Linked DNA regions of Homo sapiens: all the other regions are linked to region 2. Evidence: promoter capture Hi-C in 16 types of primary human blood cells and fetal thymus (Javierre and others, 2016). All regions are on one chromosome and are shown on one strand. The core of a region is centred on a gene start or on the middle of the fragment in contact, and the rest is flanking DNA. Distances in the headings are between cores, read along the strand shown.

What was found. Contacts are between HindIII fragments. The CHiCAGO score rates a contact against its expected background, and 5 or more counts as called.
Region 1: a contact is called between the fragment with the promoter of PIGN here and the fragment with the promoter of TMX3 in region 2, in 3 of 17 cell types (total B cells, activated CD4 T cells and non-activated CD4 T cells). The highest score is 7.6, in total B cells.
Region 3: the fragment with the promoter of ZCCHC2 here is called in contact with the fragment with the promoter of TMX3 in region 2 in 1 of 17 cell types (total B cells); the score reaches 7.3 in total B cells.
Region 4: a fragment that was not itself captured here is called in contact with the fragment with the promoter of TMX3 in region 2 in 1 of 17 cell types (non-activated CD4 T cells); the score reaches 6.6 in non-activated CD4 T cells.

Annotation. Positions count from the first base shown.
Region 1 is chr18:62,183,666-62,188,673 of GRCh38, forward strand. PIGN (phosphatidylinositol glycan anchor biosynthesis class N) reads right to left here and starts at 3,391. Exons shown (of 31, transcript NM_176787.5): 1 at 3,179-3,391. It overlaps RELCH (RAB11 binding and LisH domain, coiled-coil and HEAT repeat containing), which reads left to right and starts at 3,590. Exons shown (of 29, transcript NM_001346231.2): 1 at 3,590-4,366. The coding sequence starts at 3,841. RefSeq lists silencers at 2,893-3,105, 4,056-4,275 and an enhancer at 3,696-3,905. The HindIII fragment of the contact is 4,021 bases long and covers 1,365-5,008 here.
Region 2 is chr18:68,712,646-68,717,189 of GRCh38, forward strand. It overlaps TMX3 (thioredoxin related transmembrane protein 3), which reads right to left and starts at 2,463. Exons shown (of 16, transcript NM_019022.5): 1 at 2,291-2,463; 2 at 1,201-1,255. The coding sequence starts at 2,336. It also overlaps a transcript of CCDC102B not described here. RefSeq lists silencers at 2,111-2,210, 2,391-2,520 and an enhancer at 2,721-2,790. The HindIII fragment of the contact is 941 bases long and covers 2,003-2,943 here.
Region 3 is chr18:62,520,782-62,525,297 of GRCh38, forward strand. ZCCHC2 (zinc finger CCHC-type containing 2) reads left to right here and starts at 2,244. Exons shown (of 14, transcript NM_017742.6): 1 at 2,244-3,582. The coding sequence starts at 2,644. RefSeq lists silencers at 1,498-1,607, 1,838-2,107, 2,138-2,637, 3,528-3,767, 4,008-4,137 and an enhancer at 2,953-3,526. The HindIII fragment of the contact is 5,111 bases long and covers 2,217-4,516 here.
Region 4 is chr18:74,148,568-74,153,621 of GRCh38, forward strand. TIMM21 (translocase of inner mitochondrial membrane 21) reads left to right here. Exons shown (of 6, transcript NM_014177.3): 1 at 1-542. The coding sequence starts at 242. Among named protein-coding and RNA genes, the nearest start is that of TIMM21, 2.6 kb to the left of the region's middle. RefSeq lists enhancers at 1-36, 117-206, 1,950-3,149. The HindIII fragment of the contact is 5,042 bases long and covers 188-5,054 here.

The DNA.
Region 1 (5,008 bases), core at 2,141-4,640, 6.5 Mb before region 2:
GGGCATCTCCAACACCCATCAGAGTCTTATGCACTTAGTAAGGACTCAAATGTTTGCTGAATAAATTATTTAGAATTATCATTTCAAGGGTAAATGCAATATGCACTACAGCCACTAGAGGATGCCCTGCTTCTGTTTTTGTTCCTCCAGAACAAGATGTGAAGACTGAAAATACTTTAAAAAAAAAAAAACTAAACCTTTTATGATAAAGTAATTTACTATTAATGTAAATAAAATTGCAGTTATTACAAAATATCAGCATTCACTAACTACTTATTTTAATTAGTTTAATTGCTTAATACTAAATATTACTTAATACTTCTCTTTAAAGAAAATCACAATTTATTCAGATTTATTGAAAAAGAAATACCTCCAAAACAAACACATAACTATTAAAATTTTAAAAAGATATATGCATGTACCAATACAAGTTATCTAGTTTATCTGTGGATGTTTACCACACACTGAAAAACAATAAAACATGAGGTATTACTAAAACCTCAAGTCAACCAAAACTTGCATTCAGAATATTACTTGTGGTTCTTTTAAGACTATTAAAACCTAAAATAATTTTTTAAATACTAAAATGATTGACGTGCTTTGAAAAAAGGCATCTTTTACATCTTCATTGCTAAGGCACAAGCTTTAATAACTATCATTAGTCAGATGAAACATTAGTTGTAAGGGCCTAGATTAATGAAAATCTTACTAAGTAGAAAGGAAATTTCCCAACACTATTAATAATACATTATTATAAGTAGTGATCGGTAATTTTTAATATTCCAGTGTGTGTTACTTATACATTATTCACGAATAACCAAACCTCTGTGTATTGTGGAAAAGAAAAGTACATACTGGGAAGACTGGGCAGTTGATTTCTAATGGGCTTACAAGATCAAACACACAAGTTCATGGTTATAGGATAGGAGGCAGAAATAGAAGCAGAAAACCACAGATTTGTATGGGAAGAATTCCTCTACATGCAAGTTCTTACAACTCTGAGGAAACATTTTAAATCTATTTTCAACTTGTGTTTTAGAACTGAGACCCCAAATTAAAGATACTCCCTTCAGCCCTACTGACTTAATTGCTTTTTCAGGCTTGCACTGCCAAAACGATTGATATTAGTTTTATTTTTAAACACTTGTCAAATGTTCTCAACACATACTAATATTTCAATAATTAATAAGTGACCACAGTAATAGTTATTGTGTAGCAGGTACCAGGCACTGGGACAAGAACATTCTCAATTCTGTGTACTTTCCTTATCCCCTTTGATAGACGAATGCAAGTGAGGCTGAGAAGTTAGGTAACTTTTTCAAGGTCTCACAATAAATAATGAGTAGAATTGGGATCTGAACTTAAGCTTTTCTATCTTATAAGCATAATCCTCTTCAGGAATCCTAAATGCAGGAGATTTCTCAATTTCCCAATCATGGAGATGGAAATATTGTATATAAACAATCCATTTCTAATCATGCCCTTCCCATGCCATTCACTAATCCTCCATTCCTGGATTCCAGAAATTGGTTCCATTTTAATCTCTCTGGAAAATCCAACTAAAATACGGATCAGCAATCCCTTTTGCTAAGAAATCTCTAACAGGATACAGTATTTGCCATTTCAATTCTATTTGGGGGGATTTTTTTCCCCATGTTTTACTTTTAATATATGGCACAGAAAACTATTTATCATTAAAACATTGGGAACTAATGTCCTATAAAAAAATAGTTTAAATTCTTGGTACTTTTTTTTTAAACTTCTAGCAAAAATAAAATTTTAAAAACCCAAATCCCCATTCAAATGAAAATTTTAGTTTATTGAGCCTGGGTATATTGAAATTAAAGCCTACTCTTAACTGTTGGCATACTTTTACATGTAAACCAATAACCTGACCTAAGGTTATGTAAGAATCGTCTATTTTAATTTTTCCATGGAGCTAACGGGAGATACTTTACTGTGGAATGTTTACTACACACTGAATGTAATATGTCACTTACCTGTACACTAAGAAAGGAAATCTAAAGCCTGGAAAAGTGGTCATTTGTGTGTGAAAAAAATAGGAGCCATAAGAAATAGCAGTCTAATTGTATTGACTGGAAATTCCTTTACCTTTTCAGATCATAATCAAGGAATGACATAAAAGATAAACGTTGATCTTCTAAACTTAGGATATGTACTTTATATGCTAACATTTCATCAAAAAAATCAAAACTCTCTGAAGCATTCAACTTTTAAAATAGTTCTAAGTTCCAAAACCTTGATTCTAGCCTGCATGAACGAGTCAGAAATGTTGCAGGAGACAGTGGATAAAGAATCGTTTGGGACATAAGAGAAATGATGTTAATTCCTTTGACTCCTTATTAGCGGAATTGATTTTTTTTTTTTTTTTTTTTTTTTTTTGAGACGGAGTCTCGTTCTGTCGCCCAGGCTGGAGTGCAGTGGCGCGACCTCGGCTCACTGCAATCTTCGCCTCCGGGGTTCAAGCGATTCTCCTGCCTCAGCCTCCTGAGTAGCTGGGATTGCAGGCTTGCGCCACCACGCCCAACTAATTTTTGTGTTTTTAGTAGAGAAGGGGTTTCACCATGTTGGTCAGGCTGGTCTCGAACTCCCGACCTCGTGATCCGCCCGGCTCGGCCTCCCAAAGTGCTGGGATTACAGGCGTGAGCCACCGCGCCCGGCGTGGAGCTGATTTTATAACAACCACTCTTGGCTTAAGTTTACTTATCTGTCTACTGGTGAGACAGCATTAGATATTCTGAAGGGTCCCTGTTGTGTAAATCGTGTATTAAATCCTAAGCGTTTATTGAGTACCTAACAATTTGTTTTCCAACTCGACGATGTTCCCAGATCCAGGCAAATGCCAACCTCAGCGTTCCCTTTTCCGTTTAGTCTCTCCAGCCCCCGTCCCCACCCACAGGCAGGACCACCTCCGGGGCTGAGAAGTCGTGCTGTCGCTAGGCCTCCCGAGTGTGCAAGCATGTGGCAGAGAAGGGAAAAGAAAGGAAGTCACATTCCGACTACAGGCCTGGGCACTTGCTATCCATGGGGACAAAATGTCACCACTGGCAGCAAATAGCGAGAAAAAGTGCAGCGCAGTAGGGAAACAGCGCGTCCGCGGGCGCGACACCACAGTTTGGGCGCCGACACCCTCCGCGCACTGGTCCCTGAACTTTACCTGGAGCTTATCCCGGTCAGGCCTGATCTCGAAAACGAGGGCTCCTCAGCGCGAAGGCAGGACCCAGCTCCATTAAAGCTCTCGGGCAGTGGTCCCCTCTACCCACTGAAGCGATAGCCGGGAGGGTATTCCTAAGCCACCACTACAACCACCCCTCAATTCCGGAACGCCCCCAATACCTGCCCGGCCGCTGCTGCTATCGCGATAATTCTCGGGCCAGTCTCCCGTCAGTCCGCTCCACGCCTTCCTTCTCTGACCAATCATGGAGGAGTCGTGGGTGGAGTTTTGCTTTTGAGCGGAGAGCGGGGCCTTCAATCTTTGCTATCTGGCGCTGGGAATGGGCGGAGCTGAAGTGGGCTGGGGCGGGGCTGGGGCGGGGCTAGATCGGGGAGAGGGGCAGGGGCACGCTCCAGTTCTCGCGAGACTGGAGACCAGGAAGACGCCTGCAGAGCCGGGCTGCTGGTGCAGCAGAGGCTGAGGCATCAGGTGCAGCTGCATCCGGATCTCCTGCCTTGGAGCGTACTCCTTGTCTCTAAGTCGGGAGGCAGGACGTGGTCAGGCCGGGGCTGTGGAGGTGCGCTGTGTCCCCTGAGGCCTAGAGGATTCGGGCTGCGGCCCGTCGGAACCAGTCAGGGAGGCGCCCACACTCCTGACAGGATAAGATGGCGGCGATGGCGCCTGGAGGTAGTGGCAGTGGTGGCGGCGTGAATCCATTTCTCAGTGATTCGGATGAGGACGATGACGAGGTAGCTGCAACAGAGGAACGGCGGGCAGTACTTCGGCTGGGCGCCGGAAGTGGCCTAGATCCTGGCTCTGCGGGCTCGCTGTCGCCACAGGATCCCGTGGCCTTAGGAAGCAGTGCGCGGCCAGGGCTCCCTGGGGAGGCGTCGGCGGCTGCAGTGGCCCTGGGGGGCACCGGGGAGACCCCGGCCCGATTATCAATTGATGCGATCGCTGCTCAGCTGTTGCGCGATCAATACTTGCTGACCGCCCTGGAGCTGCATACCGAGCTGTTAGAGAGTGGCCGGGAGCTGCCTCGGCTGCGCGACTACTTCTCCAATCCAGGCAACTTCGAGAGGCAAAGTGGAACCCCGCCGGGGATGGGGGCGCCAGGGGTCCCTGGAGCAGCCGGCGTTGGGGGCGCTGGAGGTCGGGAACCGAGTACAGCGTCGGGCGGGGGACAGCTCAGTAAGTGGACGCAGCCTGTCACACTCCGGCAGGGTATTTGGGATTGTACGGAGTTACTGTAGGGGAGAGGGGGTATTTCTGCGTGGGTCCCGATAGGGACATTTTAAGGAACGAGAGTATTGGGGTGGGGGCGCTCTTTTGCGGTGGAAGCAAGAGGATCAGGCAATGACTGTTCTCTCTGCCTGCTTCCAACCCTTGGCTGGTGTTGCACTTGGCTCCTGGCTCCCCTACTGGTGTCAGTATCTATAAAATATCAAGAGTTTCTAGTTCACTGGCTATTACGGGACTCCAGAAGGTTCCCTTTTATACTAGTTTATTGCTTTAAGCATTTTCCTTTTTCTCCAGTTACCTGAATCACACTACCAGGAAATAGTGTTACCTGAATTGCCTGCAGTAGTTCTTTGAGTCTGAGCCAGGAGAGAAAGAATAGGACACACTGCTGCTGTCTCCGAAAAGTCAGATGTACTTAAGACCCTTTGTCTTTGGGACGACTTTTTCACCGCCAAAATTGGGTTTTCTGCTGCACAAAATTTGTTCTGTTGAGATAAAGTTGATGTAATTCAGTTTCAATGCCTTAATTTAAGTAATGTCCAAAATTACAGGAAATCCAAGGAGCAAGGCAGACAGGTTCTACCAGCAGTC
Region 2 (4,544 bases), core at 1,213-3,712:
AGGAAGAGTTGCCCCTGTTAGGACACTCTGAAGGAGGAAGTCTGTAGTGACACACCCCACAAGGCACTAAGTTTAATAAGACTATCTCCTTGTTAACAATCGTTCTTCTCAGAATCAAAAACTTCCTGTAAACAATCAGTGAGCATCCCCCATGACCCAACAGCATGAGCAGCGAAGTGCCCCCATGGGACTGTCAGGATTTTTGCTCTTACAGAACAGCACTGTATGATCACCCTCTCACTGCACCCATTTGGTCATGCCATCAGGTGTCCAGGTAGTCAATCAGGACAACAAGCTAAACTGAAACTAACAATCACAGCTTTATTCACTTACTGTGACAGTGCAAGTCAAGAGGTTTAAAAAAAAAAAAAAAAAAAAGAGGCACCAGCTCCTCAGTGTTCCATCTCTCCCCATGAAACAGCACCAGGTGAGTCAGGTGGATGAGACACAGATGGGAGAATTCATCTCATTTCCTACAGCACTGAACAAAAGTCTTCTGTCTCTTTATGGGGGGTGAGAGAGAAAAGGACTAGAGTAGAAAAGTGCCTCCGCTGACACCCTCAATAAAGATGTTTTAGCAGAAGTGCTCAGGAAATGCCTCAGGTGAGGTCCCAATAAGGAGGCTGCTAAACAGAGACCACTGGGTTGGGAGTGTAGACATGCAAATGAGCGTGGCTGGCCTGGGAGGCCGAATCCTTGACTACCACTCCCTCCAGGGACTGTAATGCACCGGTTATACACCAAGTTTGGTGTAGGGAGGGCACCTTCCCCTATGCCAGAAAAAGCCTTGCAATTGTCTATGGTCAAGCCTGAAAGATCACACACAGGAATTTGGGTCTGAAGTGAACCTCCTCACTTACTATAAGCAAGGCTGATTAATGCTGTCATACTATGAAGATAAATACAGTACAGTTACCAAATTCTAACACCCATTCAATATAATTAAAGGAAAAAGACATAAATACAAGGTAAGATAATGAGGAAAAAAAGAATATGTAAAAGTTTGCCACAGTTTTTTGATCTCATAACTATTAATAAAACTCTTCTGGGCACACCCTCACCTTCACTTACAACAAGTGAAAAAAATGAGTGATATATAAAAATTGGTTCCAATCTAAAATATTAGAATCACATGCAAATATTCAGATATCTGAGTTGGACAGTTAAAATAATATTTTAAATATATATATGTATACTCACGATTCATCTAAATCTTCTACAAATCCTTTACAGACGACCATATCAAGTACAACAACTGAAAAAAAAAGACAAAATGTACACAATAAATGCTGATTATTTGGCTCATACCGTATAAGCTTAGTCATCTCTGAAGTGTTTTTGACCTTTCACAACCTACCAAAAAATTCATCACTGATGCATCCCAGGGTGCAAATGATGCAAAAGCAAAGGTAGTTCATCCATTTAATAAATATTTAGTCTGTATGCAACCATATCGTGACCGGCCAAGTTCTAGGTAAGCCAATAAATCTAATACACACAGTTCCTTTTTCCTCCATATTTTCACTCTCATCTTACGTCTCTTTTTAACCATCCTATCTTTTTGGAATACAAATAGACAGCATTCTTCTTTATTTCTTTTGCTTTAGTAGCAATTACCTCTTCCGTAAAAACTCCAAATGCCATTCAAAATATTTCCCCTCAAATAGATACGTAGGAAGAAAGTCGAGCTGCAACTCTAATACTTATTACACGGCAGTGCCTGACACAGAGTGGGCTCTAAAAGGTTGTTAAGTGAGCGGACCCCAGTGAGAATGAGGGCACTCCATGCTGACGGGAGGCAGCTGAGAACCGCTGACACACACTCAGGTCCTTTTCACACCGCACAATCCCGGCGGCCTGACCCTGATCTGTCCTCGACCACCCTCTCTTGAGTACTGGTGGTAAAAATCCTTAAACGTGACAAGACTCGGAACCTAAAGCCAAGGCAAGATTTGGTCGTTAAGCTGGGACGGCGGCATCCTTCTTGCCCATCAAAGGAGTAAGCTTTATTGAAACTTCTGCCACAATGAGAAAAACACAAACACAAGGCAGCGCGCCCTTCCCACGTCCAGCATTGGTCCGGCACAGCGGCGGCGGAAGGACCCCAAGGTGTCCGCTCCGTCAGGGCCAGGCAGGGTGGCGCGGCGGGGGCGGCAGGACGCTGCCGGGAATGGGTGGGCATCTCCACGAACCCCGCAGGCCTCGCCCCAGACCCGGGTCCAATCCCGGCCCCACGGCGGGGCCAGGTCCCACGCGCCCGCCAGCGTCCCGACCGCTGAGCCCCCATTACCTGTGGCGCAGAGCCGCAGGGCCGTCCAACTCTTCCACGCTGCCATGCTAGCCCGGGAGAGCTGCAGAAGCTGACTGTGCAAAAGAGGGATAAAGACACTGGGGTCCGCCGCCTGCCCGCCCGGAAAGGGAAACGGAGCCGACCCGGAGCGGAAGAGAAGCACCGCGCTAACTACGGGGGCGGGGCTACCCGGCCAGTCTCCGTCTCCGGCTATGCGCGGGAGTGCGGCGCATGCGAGGGGAGTGCGGCGCATGCGACAGCGCCTGCGCAGTCATGTCTTAAGAATCCTTTGCGCTCTCGGTGCCCCCCTCCACGCCCAGGAGCGTGGGAACCCTGCTTAAGGGCTTTACTAGGGAAAACGGTGCTGGTTCACTGGGGCGCGTTTCCGGGAAGGTGAATACCGGTGAAAGTTATGCTGAGGGTGAGGTAGGCTCTGACGACGCACTTGCAGGTTGAATACTGGCACATCATTTACTTGTTACTCCCGTGTGGTGAGTGCACCTGTGGGTTTTGATGCTGGATCAAATTCCTGGAAAGAGGCGCGCATTAAGACTGCGGATTGCTGAGCTGCGCGACACTCCGTATTTTTCCAAAACGTATTTGTAATATTCTTTCAACCTGTTTGCATAATGGGACATCTCTTAAATGCAGCAAGCTTTAATGCATTTTTGCCAAAGTAAGGATTGCCTCTTTAAAAACTTTCTCTTGAAACTTGAGAACATGAAGTTAAGCGTAGGATATTTTTTGATGGCTCTTTTCTGATTATTTTGGAACTAGATAAAGTAGTATGAAATATTTATATTGCTACCTGTTTTTTCTTCTATACGACAATGATTTGTAAAAACCATATACTTTTATAAGACGGTTACTGCAGCAATCACTACTTACGAACTAGATGAAATTTTTATGGGACATAAGGTACCAGAGAATTTAGATCAAACCAAATTTTGAAAACCTGTGACAACAACAGAAGGGGGATATGATGTCAGCCGGTTCACCTTAGGTTCAAAATTCCAACAGGCAAAAATGTCATAAAACGTCGTTATTCCTAGTGACTAGAAGATTAAATTGCACTCTAATTGAGAGCAAGCCCTAAATGTCACCCCCTTTGTGCATGCAGCATGGTATCCAGCGCAAGCCCTCTACAGATTCAATTTTTCTTTTTCTTTCTCTTTTCCTTTTTTTCTTTTTTTTTTAAGAAAAAAGTAGACTAAAACGTAAGGGGACTGTTGAAATGATGGGAATGTTCTCCCGGTGGTGGTGGAACAGCTTTATAATAGTACCATCGCCTCGATACTCTTATACAGAAGCTTTTCTACTTTCTTGGCAAGGTCTCTGAATGACCCATATTCAATTTTTTTTTTTCATTCTCATGTATTTCAAAGTTTTCTGTCTTCCACAGCATGCAAAGTGAAATAATTTCCTCTTATATTTGCGTTACAGTTTAAGTTCACATGTGGACAACAACAAAAGCCAGTTGACCTAGATCTGTGCTTTTCAGTAGTGTAGCCACTAACCACATGTGGCTATTGAGCTTTTGAAATGTGCCTAGTGTGATGAAATAACTGAATATTTATTTTTTTTAATTTCAGTAAACTCAAAAACTGACACTCGATTCAGCTATTGGAAAGTTTTTTTAATGTGGTTGGAACAACTGAGGTATGTGAATCTACTTTTTCAACTGTAAATTTTATGAAATCTAAATACTGATCAAGTCCCAGGCATGGGTGGCTCATGCCTATTATCCCAGCACTTTGGGAGGCTGAGGCAGGAGGATTGCTTGAGGTGAGGCGTCTGAGACCAGCCTGGTCAACACAGTGAGACCCCATCTGTACAAAAAATTAAAAAATTAGCCAGATGTGGCCTGGCGCGGTGGCTTACACCTGTAATCCCAGCACTTTGGGAGGCCGAGGCAGGTGGATCACGAGGTCAAGAGATCGAGACCATCCTGGCTAACACAGTGAAACCCCGTCTCTACTAAGAATACAGAGAATTAGCTGGGCGTGGTGGCAGACACCTGTGGTCCCAGCTACTTGGGAGGCTGAGGCAGGAGAATGCATGAACCCAAGAGGCCGAGCTTGCAGTGAGTTGAAATCGCGCCACTGCACTCCAGCCTGGGCGACAGAGCAAGACTCTGTTTCAAAAAAAAAAAAAAAAAATTAGCCAGATGTGGTGGCACACACCTGTGGTCCCAGCTACTCCAGAGGCTGAGGTGGGAGGATAAGTTGGGCCAGGGAAGTTGAGGTTGCAGCGA
Region 3 (4,516 bases), core at 994-3,493, 6.2 Mb before region 2:
GGACTTCCATCGGGGCCCCTCCCTCAAAAGCACTAGCGTTTTTTCACTCTTACTGAATGTGTTCTCTCACTTATGGTAACATGGAAAAAACATTGAGGCCTCCTTGTGAGCTGCAGTATGCAGAGACGGAGATAAACAACAAATTGTCCAGCTGATGGATAACCAAAATCATTAAATCATGGTATATGTCACTTATGTGTATAAGCTTTGATCACTATATTGTTTAATGTTGGCCAAAGCTATAAACACCCAAGTAATCATTATTGATTACAAATTTGAATTCTGGTATAAAATGTATGCATCAACTATTGTGGAGAGTTCATATCAAATGGCTTCTTATTGCCAAGGAAAATGCCCCTTTGACTGCGTCACATATAAAACTCAATTTGCCAGCCTGGGCAACATGGTGAGACTCTGTCTCTACAAAAAAATACAAACAATTAGCCAGGTGTGGTGTCACGTGCCTGTGGTCCCAGCTACTTGAGAGGCTGAGGCAGGAGGATCTGCTTGAGCCTGTGCTCCAGCCTGGGTGACAGAGCAAGACTGTGTCAATCGATCAATAAAACAAAAATCAACTCGGAGGTAAAGAATTTATTTGCTCACTAGATATCCAGATCTAGACAGCTGGCTCACTATGAACCTGTGAATATCTAGCAAGATTAATATTATTACTAGTTGCCTAAGTATTTCACCCTAAGCTTTAGAAAAGTGGGAACAGGAGATGAGATATGAGTAGAAGATCCCAGGGTAGTTGAGGGTGACAGCAAAAAAGGGCAATGACGTATAAGTCCTCATAATAAAGTTTTCTTGGCTGTAAATTACATCTAAAGACTGTAAAGAACTAGCAAATTACAAGAAAGAGTGACTTTTATATATTTTGCCAACCTCAAATGTGCTGAAAACAGTTCTCCCTCTCACCCTTTCATCCCCGAAACTGATTCAGGCTTCAGTTCACCCTTTTACTGAACTGTGAATGAGCCTCTTAGGACATAAACTTGTGAGGTGAACAGAGTTCAGCATATGCTCTCCCAACAGATGTTCCAGCACCACCGCAAAGAGTTACAATGTGATTCTTATCTTTCTGCATACTCCTACTACATAGCTGTAGTAGGACTTCTAAATTTAAAGTCTTAAGATTTTTTTTAACCCACCTTTTAATTAACCCTCAAAAGATCCAGCTGAGTTTTAAAAATTTGGACTATGTTGCTAAAAAAAAAAAAAAAAAAAAAAAAAAGTAACAGTGCGAGTGTAAACATCTTGGAAGCCTAAATCTGAAAAACGTAACAAAACTTTTTTTTTTTAAGTTTAAAGCCTGTCAAGTTGGTAGCTTATTAAATTCCTCCAGTCACATGAAATTCACAGCAGAACAAGGATTCAAAATGGGTTAGGCACCGAAATGTCATTTAGCAAATCAATGATTCCCAAAAGATAGAGGTTTAGGGGCGGGGAAGGGAGAGGCTTTTCCTAAACTATCCAGGAAATAATTTTCACAGAGCGTTACAGACTAGGAGCGTCCCCAGCAGCGCTCACCCTCGGCCGGCCGGGTCCCGCTGCGCACCTCCCGGCCGCGCGTCCCCACCTGCGCACGGTGCCTCCAGCCTGGGCGTGGGCGCGGCCCGGGATCGCGGCGCCGGGGCCGCAAACCGGGGCCGCAAACCAGCGCCGCCACCCGCGTCCGGACCCAGTCCCCTGTGAGCGACACCTGGCAAAGTTTCACAAGGTGGGAGACAGCCCACCGCCGGCTTTCAGGAAGTGCACTGGGCGGTGAGGACTCGAACGAGCTCGTCCCGGGGCTGGCGCACTCACTTCGGAGAAACCCCTGCTCCCGGGACGCGTTCACTCCGGCCGCGCAGGCAGCCCGGGCACCACTGGCGGAGGCGGGGCGGCAGCTGGCAAGCAGAGGAGAATCAGGAGTCCAAAGCCGGGCCAGGGCCCTCAGGAAAGGTGAGAGCGGCCGCGTCCCTCCGCTCACGTGGGCCTCGCACGCTCCTCACCGCTCCCGGGCTACCCTCACGCCGCCCCACGGCCCCAGCCCGCGTCCTCCTCCTGCCGAGCACCAGCCTTTAGGACCGCACGGAAGCCGCCGAGAGGGAGGCGGCCGGCCAGCAGTTGGGCGTGGCTTCCTGGAGAAAGGCGGCCCCCCAGGGGGCGGGGAGAGCGACGTCACCGTCGATTCGCGGTGCTGATTGGCGGAGGTGAGGTGCGCGGAGCCCGCAAGCTTCTCCGCCCGGCCCGGCTGCTCCACCTCCTCACCCAGCCGCTCCGTCCTCACCGGCTCGCGAGGGAACAGCTCAGGCACCGCCGCCCCGGCTCAGCGCGGACGGCGGAGAGAGGGAGGCGGAAGGAGGACACCCTCGCTCGCTTGCTCCCACCCGCACCCGGGCTCCCAGAACCGGCGAGGAGCCCAGGGGGAGGAGCCGTCGCGGGCACGCCCCGCCCCCAGCCCGGGAAGACGACGCCAGCGACCCCGCCGGCCGGCCACCGCCCCCCTCGCCGGCCGAGACCCGCCCCCGGCCCCGGCCCTCCCCCGGCGGCATGGAGGGGCCCCGCTCCTGACGGCCGCGCCGCCGCCTCGGCCCGTGCTCCACCTCGCGGCCCCTCCCGCCCGCCCCCGCTCGCATGTCTGCGCCGCCCTAGCCGAGGATGCTGAGGATGAAGCTGCCGCTGAAGCCAACGCACCCCGCGGAGCCGCCGCCCGAGGCGGAGGAGCCCGAGGCGGACGCGCGGCCGGGCGCGAAGGCGCCTTCGCGCCGCCGCCGCGACTGCCGCCCCCCGCCGCCGCCGCCGCCGCCCGCGGGCCCGTCGCGGGGCCCTCTGCCGCCGCCGCCGCCGCCCCGGGGACTCGGGCCGCCTGTTGCTGGTGGAGCGGCGGCGGGGGCGGGTATGCCGGGCGGCGGCGGGGGGCCCTCGGCGGCGCTGCGCGAGCAGGAGCGGGTATACGAGTGGTTCGGGCTGGTGCTGGGCTCGGCGCAGCGCCTGGAGTTCATGTGCGGGCTGCTGGACCTGTGCAACCCGCTGGAGCTGCGCTTCCTTGGCTCGTGCCTGGAGGACCTGGCGCGCAAGGACTACCACTACCTGCGCGACTCGGAGGCCAAGGCCAACGGCCTCTCGGACCCGGGGCCGCTGGCCGACTTCCGAGAGCCCGCGGTGCGCTCGCGCCTCATCGTCTACCTGGCGCTGCTGGGCTCGGAGAACCGGGAGGCCGCTGGCCGTCTGCACCGCCTGCTACCCCAGGTGGACTCGGTGCTCAAAAGCCTGCGCGCGGCCCGGGGCGAGGGCTCGCGGGGCGGCGCGGAGGACGAGCGCGGCGAGGACGGCGACGGCGAGCAGGACGCCGAGAAGGACGGCTCAGGCCCGGAAGGCGGCATTGTGGAGCCCCGGGTCGGCGGCGGGCTTGGCTCCAGGGCCCAGGAGGAACTGCTGCTGCTCTTCACCATGGCCTCGCTGCACCCGGCTTTCTCCTTCCACCAGCGGGTCACCCTGAGGGAACACTTGGAGAGGCTCCGCGCCGCGCTCCGCGGGGGCCCCGAGGACGCGGAGGTGGAGGTAGAGCCGTGCAAGTTTGCCGGCCCCAGGGCCCAGGTAAGGCGCACGGAGCCTCCCTGGACTCGCGGTGCGATCGCTGCCCCGGCGGCCTCCCCGGCCTCGCTCTCGGACGCCCCTTGCCCGAGCCCCAGCCCGGCGCAGGTGGCTCGGAATCCCCACCCGGCAGCTCCCAGCGCCAGAGGGCTGAGCTTCGTCTCGCTGGGCCGCTCCGTTCCACTCCCCCACCCCACCCCACACCCCGGCAGACACAGCCACCCGCCATCACAGAATGCTCTAGAAGTCCCTTCCGTGCCACGGTGTTGCCACGGAAGACGTGGAGCTCCCCGCCCGGGGCCCCTCTCGGAGGAAAAGTGTCGGGACGTTTTTGGCTCTGAGCATCTCAGCGCTCGGTGCGGGAGCCGCCGGGCGCTGGAGGAACCTGTGTGAGAGCCAGCCGCAGTGAGCCCCAGGCAGCGCCGTCCTTCCCCGCCTGCCTGGCCGGGGCTCCGCCTCCCGTCTCCGGGCTCTGCCGGGCCCTCGGCGGGGTGTCCTGAAGGTGCGCTCCCGGCGAGCTGCCCTTGTCTTTGGCACAGAGGGACTTTTTTTGCCCAGTGTGTGCCTGAGTTAAAAGGGGTCGTACGGGTCCTTGTGGCTTCTGCTCTGAGGGCTTGTGTTCCCAGCAGACATCTGACGTAGAGACCTGCGAATGGATCTGAGATGAGTAGTAACGCAGGTTGTCCGGGGAGAGAAACCTTTTCTAGCGCGGCCTGGGATGCTTTTTCCCTCCGGCACACGCGCTTTCTCACGGGCTTGATTCCTGCCTACAGATTGGGGTTCCGGGATATTTGTTGAGCGTTTACGATAGGCGTTAATGTTGCCCAAAAGAATCACTTAAACACCAAAATGTAGTAGACGAGAATCCAGATGAGACACTTGTCGCAAACATTAAAGATGAATTTTTTTTACAGCCATGAAAGCAATTTAATGATAA
Region 4 (5,054 bases), core at 1,459-3,958, 5.4 Mb after region 2:
CAGAAGGTGATCAGAGCCTGTTAATTAAAATGGAAAGAAGACAGAAGGGAAGGTAGACATCAGGTTCTCCCTGGAGACTTTTCGTTTTCATTTACGCTGCGGAAACTGACGTTTTTGCCTAACACCCCATGTAATGTAAACGTATAGGCTTGAGTACGTGTCCGGCCGCATGTGTAGTGAACCCTAAAGCTTTCCTAATTGTAGTTAGCATCGTCCCTAAGCGGAACGATTTTCCGTGAACATGATTTGTACTTTTCTACGAGCCGTACAGTATACGGAGAAGCTGCACAGGTCCTCGGCAAAGCGATTGCTTTTGCCATACATCGTGCTTAACAAAGCGTGCTTGAAGACTGAGCCCAGTTTGAGATGTGGGCTTCAATATCAAAAGAAAACGCTGCGACCTAGATGTATTCTTGGAGTCACCCAGAAAACCATCTGGACGCAGGGACCGAGCCCCCGAAAAGCAAAGGAGGATGGCAGCAAACAAGTGTCTGTGCACAGGAGTCAGAGAGGGGGAACCGCCGTCCCAACATCACAAAAAGGTAAAAAGGAGTACTTTAATGATTGGGCTTTCAACAGACATGACAAGAGCTGCCAATGCCCTTTTATACCAAGTTCACTGCTAAAGGTGAAAAAGCAATTCACATGAATTTTTAAAAACCGTTTAAACATAATTTAGAACTAGAACATATAGATCTACAGTTTTCTTCACAGATTGGAACTCAGATGTGAAAGTTGATCTTGAATTTGATATAACTTTTTTTCATTATGTTTGGGAAATTTTTCTCAAGTTATATTGGCTCTGTTACATATAATAAAGAGTAATTGGATAGGATAAAAAGAGAGAGAGAGAGATTATTGACTCATAACTGGTAGGGAAAACTTTCACATGTTACCTGCAGTAATAGAAAAACATAAAATAGGGAGGATGGAATGTAAGTTGTCAGGGAAAGTCAGAGATGTATTCACAGATATTTTAAGATTTTTTTTTAATGTCTTCATTTCGCATGTGATTTGTAGGAAAAAAAAAGACAAAGCAATTTAGACCGCCATGATTATACCACACGAAGATGACTATTTTTAACATTTTGCACTTTCATACACATACCTTTTAATAATTTTTAACCCAAAAAATTGGATCATACCAATTGTTTTAGAGTCTGCTGACTATGCCAAAAACCTAGCTTTTCATTCATACTAGTTCAGCACGAAGGAACAACCTGTATGCAGAGGTGAAAGGCATAGAAGTGGCAAACAGCATGTGCATCAGGTCATCTGGCTCAGGCAACAGTGCTCATGCTTGCACTGCACACCAGGCCTGCTTAGGGACCCCTTCCCTCATCTGCACCCCATTCAGACGTGACAGTCCTTGTGGCTGAGTGAATTGATGGGAGCAACATTCCCAAATATGGAATATGCTGCGTCCAGAATTCAAACAGGCCTATGAAGCATTGTGGTAGGAGGTATAGGGTACAATTGTCTTTTACTTGGGAGGGCATGTCTTGGCACGCCCCAGTGTAGCCCCACGAGGTCGGCTCATGTGTTGATGAGCCTCTGCATCTTTGTTGGACCCACCTCTCACACTTGCAGCTTCTCTGACCAAGCCTTCTAACACACTTGCCACTTGTTACTTATGGGCTCTAACATGATGGCATAAATATAGTAGACAAATGTGATATTCTCCTGAATGTCCAGAACAGCATTATTCAAATAAAACTTTCTGCATAGAAATGTCCTATATCTGTGCTGTCCATTTGGGTAGTTCCTGGCCACTTGTAGCTATTTTGAGCACTTGAAATGTTGCTAAAACTTGTGACTGAAGAACTGAATTGATTTAATTTTAATTAATTTAAAATTGAACTGAAATAGCCATGAGTGGCAAGTGGCTACTGTATTAGACAGCCCAGGTCCAGAAGGTTTCAGTCCCTTAAGACTGTTATGATAGAGGGTGAGAGAATTAGCAAATCCTGGGCAGGATCATAAACATACACTGTTATTATCTGTTTCATGTTACTACAGACTACTGCTGCTGCTTCTGAATAGAAGGCGTTCTTCAAAGCAATGGCCAATACCATGAGATTGTGTTAATGCATTCCCCTGTAAAGTTACCATTTGTGGTATTACATGTGTACCCCGGCTGCCACTTGGTTGAGTTTGCAGTTAACCACTGTCATTCTCCAGCACCTATTTGTGTTTTGTAAAGGAAGACTGGTAAATTACAAGGGACCGTGATGGGGATCGCCATGCCTGTATCTAAGGTCTCTAAGAATACTCTGCCATTCCCCATAGATGTGATATCATTTTTAATTTCCTATCTTGGTCACCGAAAGGGCAGCTTCAGGGGCTTCCATTTGACTTTTCCCACTGCGATGGCTCTTAACCCACTTCCAAAGGAACTAAAGTGGGAGTTATTGTTGCCAGTTACTCAGTACATCCCCTTGATTTATACATTTGGAAATCACAGAAATTATTGCCAGGTAAGTCCCTGGACCCACCTGTGAGCTTCTTACATCCGGTGATGGAGGGCGGTCAGGGGGTCATCATGACTCTTTGGGTCCTTGGGTATCACTGTCAGCACAGACTATGTCCAAGTTGATAACTGTAGGTCCTTTTGGTGAAGGACGGGGGGAGTCAGTTACATACGCTTTCCTTCAGTAAATGCGTTCCAGGTCTGAAAACTGGTTCAGGTCCAGAAACTGGGGCAATGTTCAGGACTTTGCATTAGAGCAGCTGCCTTCAGCCTCAGGAATCATCTGTAGTTAATTTCTCATGACTGTGTAATTCAGAAGTAGCCTTGTCCGCTGCCCTTGTGTCTTCCCTTTGGAAACACTGTGTTCTAGTCATCAACTCTGTTGCTTTCTGTAGGTCAGACACTCCCGACTGCCACTCCAGCCTTGCCATTAGTTATGATGGTTGCACCCACCTTGGCTTCTGTTTAACACCCCAGCCTGGTCTCTGCTTCATAATTCTTTCATCTCCATTTCTGTCAGGGCATCCTGCTCTATAAAGATGTAACTGTGGCTTCCTTGTGGCTTTGGTACACAGTGTCCTCCTGTCCCTCCTAAGAACATAGTCAGCTGGTGGGTTTTCGGGCTTTATATCTTATATCTATGGTAGCATCCCCATTCTTGGAGGCTGTTGAGCCTTTCGTCCAGTTTGCCATGGCTGTTCTGTCACTTTTACTTAATGTGGACCATCACTGTCTCGAAGTTTCCAGGAGCAGACCTAGCCAGCTGCATATCAGTTCCCAGGGTGCTTGCCTGGTTGCTAAATTCATCACAGGAGCGTGCCCCATGCTGATCAACTCTCAGCTGGTTTTGTGTTCTGTGCCCTTGACACACCACCCTTAAGAAGCAGTGGTGTCTATGTTCCCCCCCCCCCCGGGGGGACCTCCAGCTCCTTCCGAGTATTGTTCTTCTCACCCTTCTCATGCCCAGTCGTGTTGTAACTTGGCCAGGAGGGGAGGTGGAGAGCCCTCCTGAGAGCAGCACGTATCTTGCTAGGCAGAAACCCCCACCCACCCCTCGCCCAGTTTCCAAGGTGGAGGAAGTGCCAACCTTTACCAGACACTGAGCTGCTGCTTCAGGGCTAGAGGGGTCAGGAGAATTGGGATTCAAGATTTTTTACAACATTGACCTCAAGGGCCCCCTACCCAGCTTTAGGTTGCCTTTCCTCCCAAATCAGGACCCTGACCTTGGTGTGGGAGGTCTCATGGGCTTGAAATGCCAAACTCCCTGAATCCCTTCCGCCCCAGACCTCACCCACGCATTTTCTATCCTCTGGGTGCAATTTGAGTCTTGTTCTGCCGGGGAGGAGGCTCCTGCCCTTGGCACTCACCTTCACTGGTGATTAGTTACACACTTCATCTCACCATCCCTCTCCATGGCCCCAGCCACAGCCGTCTGATATAAGTCCTTAAAATTGCTGATTCCTCCTAAACTCCCAGAATAACACATCAGCCAGTACATTCCCTTCCGCCAGCATTCCATCCCAGGTCCCCATTGGTGAGAGCTGCATCAGCTGCACTACAGCTCTATGACAGGTGCTGTCAGTACCCCCCTACCACCAGGGACAGGGTCCTCATTGCCAGCCAGTGGCCGGCAAGCCAGCTCCAAAATCCAAATTGAGAGCTGCTTACCACTCCTGGTAGCACCCGTTGTAGGTTGGCTTCCCAGGGAAGTGGGATTTGCGTAAGGTTTATCAGGGAGTGCTCTCAGAATACGTCTTGAGGGATGAGGGAAGCAGGACTGGGCAGAGGGAGAGGCCGAAGTGCATTTGCAGTTGGGGCCTCAGCTGCTGCTCTGGGGACTTCTGGAGCTGAGCTGGCCAGTCACTGTCCTACCTAATATGGGGGCTGAGTCTTATGCTTCTGCATCAACCAGGCATTGAATATGGGCTGGTCCAGGGAAGTGCCGTGACCTAAGTGAGGAAGCTCTCTTATGATGGAATGCCCAGAGAGGAGCTCAGCTGACAACTGTCCGCTACCAGTGCTCCCTGCAGCTGGGAGCCCCATACCACAGCACCCACTATAGGAGGGGTAGAGAATTGTGGAAGCAAATAAATGGCATGAGGGTTTTTTGCATACAAGTATTAGGTCTGATAGGGTTCAGAAAGTTAGACAGTGAGCAGCTTCCATTGGAGACAGCTATAAAGTAACAAACAGAAATTTTTCAAGTGTGTAGAATATGGAGAATATTTAGCACAGGGCTTTATATATAACAGATATACAGGAGCTGTTGTTTATCAAATAAATGGAAAAGACCTGTCAGATACCCTAAGCAAGGTAGGAATGAATTGTTGGAAGGGACAGTCAGAAGTCCAGGGTGTTGGGGCCAATGACCCGGTTTGGGTAACAAGGACAAATAAGGATACTTACTAGAACTAGTTAGTTGTTATTGTATTCTCAACCTGGGAGTTGATACATAACTGGCAGGTAATATTTATTGAAATGTATTTTGTGACACTGAGAGTGGAATGAGATGTCGTCATTGTAGGCCCCAACTCCTGAACCTTGGAAGGGAAATTGGATTTGTGACAATTGTTTGAGTCAGTCC